3 separate regions of the Homo sapiens genome follow, and all the other regions are linked to region 2. The links are contacts of gene promoters, found by promoter capture Hi-C in human tissues and cell types (Jung and others, 2019). All regions are on one chromosome and are shown on one strand. The core of a region is centred on a gene start or on the middle of the fragment in contact, and the rest is flanking DNA. Distances in the headings are between cores, read along the strand shown.

Region 1 (2,700 bases), core at 134-2,633, 280 kb before region 2:
CTGTTACCCTCAAAGGGATTTTCAGATCAGACAGCCCCCCTACTCCAAGGGACGTGTGTGGAGCTTGGTACCTTTATTTATCTCCTGCTCCAACCCCTGTGGACTGCCTGCACCCAGAATGGGGCCTCTCCTGCTGGCAAGTGGCTGAGAACCTCCACTCCACTCAGCAGGGCTGTTCCCCATTTACCGAAAAGCTCCGAGAGAAAATAACTAACCCCATGGCGCCGCTGTAGCTACTGGCAGAGCCTCCTGGTCCCCACCTCTAGCGCCTGTGGTTTTTGTTTCATGCAGAGTGAGCAGTGAATCTGGGATCCCATCAGCAGTCAGTTTGGGTGCCTGCGAGGCACAATGATAGATGTTGGTGAAGGGTATGTGTGAGGATATTAATTAATATTAACATGCTAGTTATATTAATATTCTCATTGGAATTTGTGGGGCTTTGCAAGTTATATTTCAAATATATGGTTTTATGTAATCCTTTTAACTGCCCTGAAACCTTGAAATTATTGCACCTATTTTATAGATGGAGAGACTGAGGCTCAGAGGGGTGAATTGCCTAAGATCCTGGGGGAGGAAGCACCCAGGTTTTCTGGTTTTGAGTCCTGGGCCCTTCCTGCTGAGTAGCTACCCCCAACACAGACCTGCCCTTGGAGAGCTTGCAGCCACACTGGGAAGGCCAGTGTATTGGATTGCTGCTTAGACCTGGAAAGCACGTGAATAAAGCTTCAGGTTAAAACCATGGGGGTTCCAGGAGGCAGCAGTCGGCTCTGCCTGGGGGTGAGCTGAGGAGCCGGTGCTCTCTGGAACAAGGGTAGTTGGGCTGAGGCTCAGTGGACAGTGGAGGTTGGCAGGTGAAGTGCAGGAGGTCTTTGCAGGGAGTGGGACCACCTTGAGCACACACAGAGGAATGAGACAGGCAGGTTACTCAAGGAGCAGAGGTCTCGTGACCACTTCCCAGAGCATGTGGGGTCCTAGCCTCATCTCCAGGAGGAGAAAGTGCATCTATACACAGATTTGTCAATGGAGTTTAAATAGGATGTGGGAAAATCTAGATTTTCCAAAACAGTACATATTTGCTTTGAGAAGAAAGGTAGATGCAGGATGCATAGGTTAGATAATTTTAATAGCAGTAACCTCAGAGCATGTAAGTATGATTTGATTTACTGGAGTGCCTGGCCGTCTCAGTCAGTGGGAGCACGGCTTGGGCTGGGAGATGAGGTTGACAAGGGTTCTTTCTCTCAAATGCTTCCTTTGGTTTGCTAAGAGGTATCTCCTACTCGGCCGGGGGCAGAAGACTTTTCCTTCTTTTCCCAGTTTGCAGTAGTTGGGCCAGATTTGTGGAAGTGGGAGAAAGGCCTGCCCTGCTTCTACATAGAGTTGGCTGTCCTGACTTGATACTCGGTGTGCCTTCCAGAGACCCGCCTCCATCTCCTCAACTCCCTGGCTTGATGCTTAGGTGGTGATGGCTGTTGGGCACAGGAGTTACATAACAGATCTGTGATGGACCCAGGAGCAGAGCCAGCTGAGTGAATGTCATGGAGTGGGAGTGGTCTTGCATGGCTGTGGTGTCCCCTGCAGCTTGTGCAGGGTATGTGGCAAGAGGTGCTCACCACTCATCTGGAATGGCTAGACTGGAAGCACTTGGCCCTCTTGGGCTCTGCACCCCCACCCCCTCCCACCTGGCCTGCCTGCTCATCTTCATGGGCGCCTGGGGAGACCAATTATGGCTGCTTGTCATAGTGGCTCAGGTCACCGTTCACACTTCCTGGGACCAGGACATCAGAGCCCTGAGAAGGGTCAAGGGGCCAAGTGGGCCTAGCCTTTTACTGACAGCTGGGAAATGCAAGCGTGTGGACCAGAGCACCAAGTGAGTTGGGGCCGGTGTGGGTTCAGCACCGTGTCCCTACCCAGAGCTCCATTTGTTGAAAACAGCCTTTCTCTACCGTTTCTTCACTTGGACAACTTTAAACTATGTATTGGCTGGTCGCGGTGGCTCACGCCTGTAATCCCAGCACTTTGGGAGGCCGAGGTGGGCAGGTAACTTGAGGTCAGGAGGTCGAGACCAGCCTGGCCAACATGGTGAAACCTCATCTCTACTAAAAATACAAAAATTAGCCCAGCGTGGTGACACGCACCTGTAATCCCAGCTACTCGGGAGGCTGAGGCAGAAGAATCGCTTGAACTTGGGAGGCAAAGATTGCAGTGAGCTGAGATTGCATCACCGCACTTCAGCCTGGGAGACAGAGCGAGACTGCATCTCAAAAAACAAACAGAAACCTACATATTTTCTATATTTCCCCCAACATTGAGGCTCATTTCTTGGATGAACAATTTAAATGTACTGTGCCTCTCTGGCAATATTTTCCAAAATTACAGATGTTTCTATACTTTCACCGGCAGCTCTGCCTCCCAGAATTTATTCTACGGATGGGTTAACACGTGTGCAAAATGATTTATTTGCAAGGTTCGTCATTGTTGCCTTATTTTTAATAGCAAAAGATTGGAGGCAGCTTAAATGTTCATTCGCAGGGGCCAATGAACAAACCATGGCCCGTCTAAACATGGGATACCGCGTGGCCATAATACATAAGATGGACGCTCAACGCACTGTGCCGGATTGAGCAGCAAGGTGGATTGCCGAGGGAAGAAGCAGGTCTGGGCGGTGTGTCTCGGAGCTGCCATCAGTGTAAAAGGGAAGAG
Region 2 (2,700 bases), core at 147-2,646:
GAGAGAAAGAGAAAACCCTTATCAAACTCCTAATTCACTGGGCTCCGAGGCCCCAGACACACTGGCCCGATTGTCTGGCTGGTTGTGTGTGTGAGCATGTGTGTGTGTGTGTGTGTGTGTGTGTGTGTGTGTTCCAGTGTCTGCTCCCCCCACCCCCAACATGCCTCTGCCTCGTGTGACTACCTCATTGTGTCCCATTTCCCACCCCCTACACCCCTTTGGACTTTCCCAAGCATGAGGCCTTGCCTCCCCAGACCCTTTGCAGCCCACTCCAGACAGGACCCCTTGGGGTGGTCTTGGGGCTTTGCCCTGCTGTTGAGGAGCTCAGAACGTCACATGGTTGCCAATGCGACCCCAGCTCCATTACATAACCCACATACACCCCACCTCGGCCTCAACACCCCGGCGGGGCTGCCCTCAGTTAAGAGAACAGCACTGCGACCTTTGGAGGAGAGGCCAAGGAAAGAGAGAGAAAAAGGTGTCAACGGAGGATGGGCAGGAAAGAAAAGGGGAGGGAGGGAGAGGTGGGCAGAGGAGGGAAGAGGCAGGGCAAGTCCCCACCCCTTGTTGGGGTGGGGGAGTAGAGGACTTCGTGACAATCAGGACTAGGACTCCCCTACCCTCTCCCAAGACAGGGTGAGCCCAGTGTGGAAGGAGCTGGGTCCCAGTAGGTAGCAACCCAAAATGCCTCTAAGACCTACTGAGAGAGGGCCCCCAACCTGTCCCACCTTGGCCTCCTGGCAGCTTTAGTCTTGTGTTTCCACCTTGAACCAGACCAGAACGCGCGTGTGCTGGGTGTCTGCAGAGAAGGGACCAGGGGTCAAGCTGGGGCTCTGCACTTCTCAGAGGGATCCCTGAGAAGTCTCTCTTACTGTGCAGGATGGGGCAGAAAGGGCTGCCTGGGAAAAGGTAGGAGGCAGGGTGAGGAGCTGGGCATCAGTGCCTGGCACACACTAGGCACTCAACAGGATTTCGCAGACGAAGCAGCTAGGGCCAGCCACCCTCACGGGCCCCCAGGACCCTCACCGCCTTCACGTCTCTCCCTAGTCCCCTGCCAAGTGCCCATCCTGCCACCTGAGGCAGACGTTAGGAGTCCTGGTTGGGCCCAATTTTCTTCCATCCAACAGGTTCTGACCCTCCAGCCTACATCTCTTCCTTCCTCGGCCTAACCTCCCCTCCACCTCCCAGACTAAGCCCAAGATAAGCCTCAGCAAGATGGGCCTGGGCAGTAGGGCAGGGAGCTGGGTGGGGGGGCCTGGGCTCCGGGTGGAGGAGCCCTGAGTGTTGGGGATGAAGGAAAGCCTGGAGGCTCCACCTTCTGCCCTTCCCTCCCTCCTCTCCCCTCCCCCCTCTCCCCCTCCTTCCTTCCCCAGCCCTCCGCAGCGGCTCAGGCTCAGTCGCTCAGTCAGTCTCGGGCTGTCCGGCCAGGGTGGTTGGTGGTAAGGATTCAGGCTCCGTCCTAACGAGGCCGTGGCCTGAGGCTCAGGGCCCCCCGCCCCTCCCTCCCAGCCCACCAGCGTCACCTCCCAGCCCCGAGCTGGACCGCACACCTTGGGACACGGTTTTCCACTTCCTAAGGACGAGCCCCAGACTGGAGGAGAGGTCCGAGGAGGTGAGTGCGCAGCCTGCTCCTCCCTGGCCCGCCCAGGCCTGGGACCCTGCTGTGAGGTGGAGAGAGGCGACACCCCGCCCTTGCCCCCCACCTGGCTCTCCTCTAAACCCCGTTGGGGCAGGCTGAGGGAAGAAGGAAAGGTGAGAGAAAAGGTGGGAAATTCCAGGGGCCGGGATTAGAGCAAAATAAAGGCTCCGTTTTTTTCTTCCTTATCATCAACAAACCTCCACCCAAAAAAGGAGGCTAAAAAAAAAGCCACCCACACCAAGAGACGGTTGGGACCAGGTGGTGGGAAGACACAGAGGCGGGACGCACCCACCTAGAGTCTGGCATGTGCGTGGGCCCCAGGGGCCAGATGGGTTTAGCTGGAGCAGGAAGGGCCGCCACCTCGGGGCTGTGCCCACGTCCTGTCTCGGGCCGCCCTCGGGGCTGCGCGCGCGGCCGCTCCATCGCGCCCTCCTTCCATCCAGGTGGGCGTTGGACTCTTTGCGAGGACCCCGGCGGCTGGCCCGGGGGAGGCGGCCGAGGCGGCGGCGGCGGCGGCCGGGGGCGACATGGCGGAGGAGCAGGACCTATCGGAGGTGGAGCTGAGCCCCGTGGGCTCGGAGGAGCCCCGCTGCCTGTCCCCGGGGAGCGCGCCCTCGCTAGGGCCCGACGGCGGCGGCGGCGGATCGGGCCTGCGAGCCAGCCCGGGGCCAGGCGAGCTGGGCAAGGTCAAGAAGGAGCAGCAGGACGGCGAGGCGGACGATGACAAGTTCCCCGTGTGCATCCGCGAGGCCGTCAGCCAGGTGCTCAGCGGCTACGACTGGACGCTGGTGCCCATGCCCGTGCGCGTCAACGGCGCCAGCAAAAGCAAGCCGCACGTCAAGCGGCCCATGAACGCCTTCATGGTGTGGGCTCAGGCAGCGCGCAGGAAGCTCGCGGACCAGTACCCGCACCTGCACAACGCTGAGCTCAGCAAGACGCTGGGCAAGCTCTGGAGGTGAGCACCCGACCGCCCCCCGGGCTCGGGCCCTCTAGCTTCGGGTGGATTCAGGGTAGCCGAGGCGGCCCGGCCTCCTGCACCTCAGAGCGGGACTGTCTGGCAG
Region 3 (2,700 bases), core at 92-2,591, 320 kb before region 2:
AATAATATTCCGCCGCATGGAGGCACTGCATTCCATTCATCCTTGCATCTGTGACAGATGTTTGTTGTTTCCACCCTCTGGCTGCTGTGAGGAGTGCACCCCTGGGACCAGGGTCATTGTGTGAAGCAGGCATCCTTTCCTCTTCACTGCCGCCTGGGATTCCCTGGTGACTGCGCCACTGTTCCTGTTCTTCTGCTGCTGAGCACTTGGGCTGTTTGCTCCTGTGTCCATCCTTGTCCTGTCCCCCTGGTGCACACGTGTTTCTGAAGGATGTACACTCAGGAGTGGGGTTGCTTGGGCGAGCGTTTGTTTATGTTCAGCTTCACCCAAGAGGTGCACAGGGGCTGTGCCAACTCACACCCACACCTTTATTTCTTATATACAAACTTTTCCTCTACTTGAGATTTCTCCTGGTTGTGGTGTGAGCCATGGTGTCTTTTCTCAGGTGGCCAGCCGGTTGTTCAGGGACATTATTAATGAACAGTCTCATCTTTTCCTCTGATGTGAGGTCCTGCCTTTCTCCTGTCTTGAACTCCTCCTGAGGCTGTGTCCCTGGGGGTTGTTCTGGCCTGTTTGTGTCCTGTTGCGACACTGTCCTACTCCTCCTGCTGGGCTCGCTGCTGGCCCCAGGAAGGAGACACCCTGTCGCCCAGCCTAGCCCCAGCCCTTCATCTCATCCACCCATACAGCCAGGGAAACTGAGGCAAGGTACACTTTGGGCTTGGTCTTTCTTGTGACTTCTTGAGTTGGGCAGTGGGCCCAGGCAGAGAGCGGGGCCTTGGTGTGTGTGAGGGTATTTTCTTAGAGCCCCTTGAGAAGCCAGGAGTGGACTGGGGGAGACGGGGAGGTGCAGGCAGGACCTCTGACCTATGCTGGAGGCCAGCAGAGCCGGGGTTGATCTCAAGGCCGCCATTTACAGGTCAGGTGACCTTGAGCTGGGTCTCTAGCTGGGTCTCTGTTTTCTCATCTCTACAAGGGGGTTGAGAATCGAATGAGACACTGGATTAGAATGTGCAGGGCTGCCTCTGAAGGCATCAGCATTGACTGAGGGGTTGCTGCGGCTGTCCCATCCTCATCCTGTAGGCCAGGGTGGTCCTGGCTTGTTCTGGTGTGTTCGGCAGCCCAGCCCCATTGGGCCTCTTCTGCACGTGCCACCATCTCAACCCGACAGACCTCACTGCCTGAATTTGCTCTAGGACTCAGCCCCCTCCCTTAGGTGGTCTGTGAGCCTTTTGCATACCTGACCCTTGCCCCACTCACATCGGGCCTTCTTGTCGCCCCAACCTGTGGCCCTGGGTAGCCCTTGTGTGTCACCTCTGTCCCTCACAGCGCTGACCTTCTTTCCCCTCAGGAACCCTTTGCCGGGGCTCCTTTGCCCCCTTCCCAGCCTCCCCCAAGAGCTCCTCAAGGGCAGATGGCCCCGGGCCCGGCACACGCCAGATCTCAGAAATGCTTAGTGGGGCGCCTGGGACTGCCTGGCCTTTGAGGGTGACCCTGGTCCCTTGCCTCCCTGCCCCGGGCAGGTGCCAACATCGCCTCTGGTGAGGAAGTCGCCATCAAGCTGGAGTGTGTGAAGACAAAGCACCCCCAGCTGCACATCGAGAGCAAGTTCTACAAGATGATGCAGGGTGGCGGTGAGCGCAGGGTGGGCGGCGGCGGGCGCCGGGTGGGTGGCGGTGGGCAGCCATGAGCACAGGGTGGGCCGGGCGTGGCTGGCTGCCTGCCTCTGACCCCTGACAGAGGCCCTCTGCTTGACCCCCAGTGGGGATCCCGTCCATCAAGTGGTGCGGAGCTGAGGGCGACTACAACGTGATGGTCATGGAGCTGCTGGGGCCTAGCCTCGAGGACCTGTTCAACTTCTGTTCCCGCAAATTCAGCCTCAAGACGGTGCTGCTCTTGGCCGACCAGATGGTGAGTCCCCGTCCCCTCCATCCCCAGCCAGATGCCTGTGGGCCCAGGATACCAGCCCTGCCTCCTGCCCCCAGAGGATGCCAGAGGATGGGCCTGGGCCAGGGGACCTTGTCCACTGGCTATAGAATTGTAGGTGTTTATTTATTTTTTGAGGCGGAGTCTCACTCTGTCGCCCAGGCTGGAGCGCAGTGGTGCGATCTCAGCTCGTTGCAACATCCGCCTCCCAGGTTCACGCGATTCTCCTGCCTCAGCCTCATGAGTAGCTGGGATTACAGGCACCTGCCACCACGCTGGGCTAATTTTTGTATTTTTAGTAGAGACAGAGTTTTACCAAGTGATCCGCCCATCTTAGCCTCTCAAAGTGCTGGGATTACAGGCGTGAGCCACCGTGCCCAGCCAAGTTGTTTATTTAAAATGTGATTTCAGGCCCAACTCCAGACCTGCCGAGTCAGGGCCTGGGACTCTGCCTGGGGTAGTTTTATTTATTTATTTCAAAAATATCATTTAATTGTAAGAAATAGAGATGGGGGTCTCACTGTGTTGACCAGGCTGGTCTCAAACTCCTGGCCTTGAGCAGTCTTCCCATCTTGGCCTCCCAAGATGGGAATTAACACGGGATCACAGGCATGATCCACCACGTCTGGCCTGCCCTGGGTAATGTAAAGCCTGCGGTCGGTCACACAGACCTGGTCCTGTTCCAGACCAGTGACCGTAGGTGAACGCCGAACCTCTCTGAGCCTCAGTGGCCTCATGTGAGAGTCTCTCCTTTGTTGGTTGTTGAGGGGATTA

The links. The method cuts DNA at HindIII sites, captures the fragments that hold promoters and counts their contacts. A contact is called where the count stands out against the background at its distance.
Region 1: a contact is called between a fragment that was not itself captured here and the fragment with the promoter of SOX10 in region 2, in 5 of the 25 tissues and cell types used here (dorsolateral prefrontal cortex, hippocampus, lymphoblastoid cells and 2 more).
Region 3: a contact is called between a fragment that was not itself captured here and the fragment with the promoter of SOX10 in region 2, in 5 of the 25 tissues and cell types used here (aorta, dorsolateral prefrontal cortex, liver and 2 more).

What each region holds. Positions count from the first base shown.
Region 1 is chr22:38,263,383-38,266,082 of GRCh38, reverse strand. The region is part of intron 1 of TMEM184B (transmembrane protein 184B); the gene reads left to right. Among named protein-coding and RNA genes, the nearest start is that of TMEM184B, 8.3 kb to the left of the region's middle. RefSeq lists an enhancer at 1,697-2,197. The HindIII fragment of the contact is 7,395 bases long and covers 1-2,700 here.
Region 2 is chr22:37,983,251-37,985,950 of GRCh38, reverse strand. SOX10 (SRY-box transcription factor 10) reads left to right here and starts at 1,396. Exons shown (of 4, transcript NM_006941.4): 1 at 1,396-1,612; 2 at 2,083-2,594. The coding sequence starts at 2,167. It also overlaps a transcript of POLR2F not described here. RefSeq lists enhancers at 1-335, 2,290-2,700. The HindIII fragment of the contact is 28,697 bases long and covers 1-2,700 here.
Region 3 is chr22:38,302,072-38,304,771 of GRCh38, reverse strand. TPTEP2-CSNK1E (TPTEP2-CSNK1E readthrough) reads left to right here. Exons shown (of 15, transcript NM_001289912.2): 7 at 1,524-1,634; 8 at 1,763-1,911. It overlaps CSNK1E (casein kinase 1 epsilon), which reads left to right. Exons shown (of 11, transcript NM_152221.3): 3 at 1,524-1,634; 4 at 1,763-1,911. Among named protein-coding and RNA genes, the nearest start is that of CSNK1E, 14 kb to the left of the region's middle. The HindIII fragment of the contact is 4,513 bases long and covers 1-2,700 here.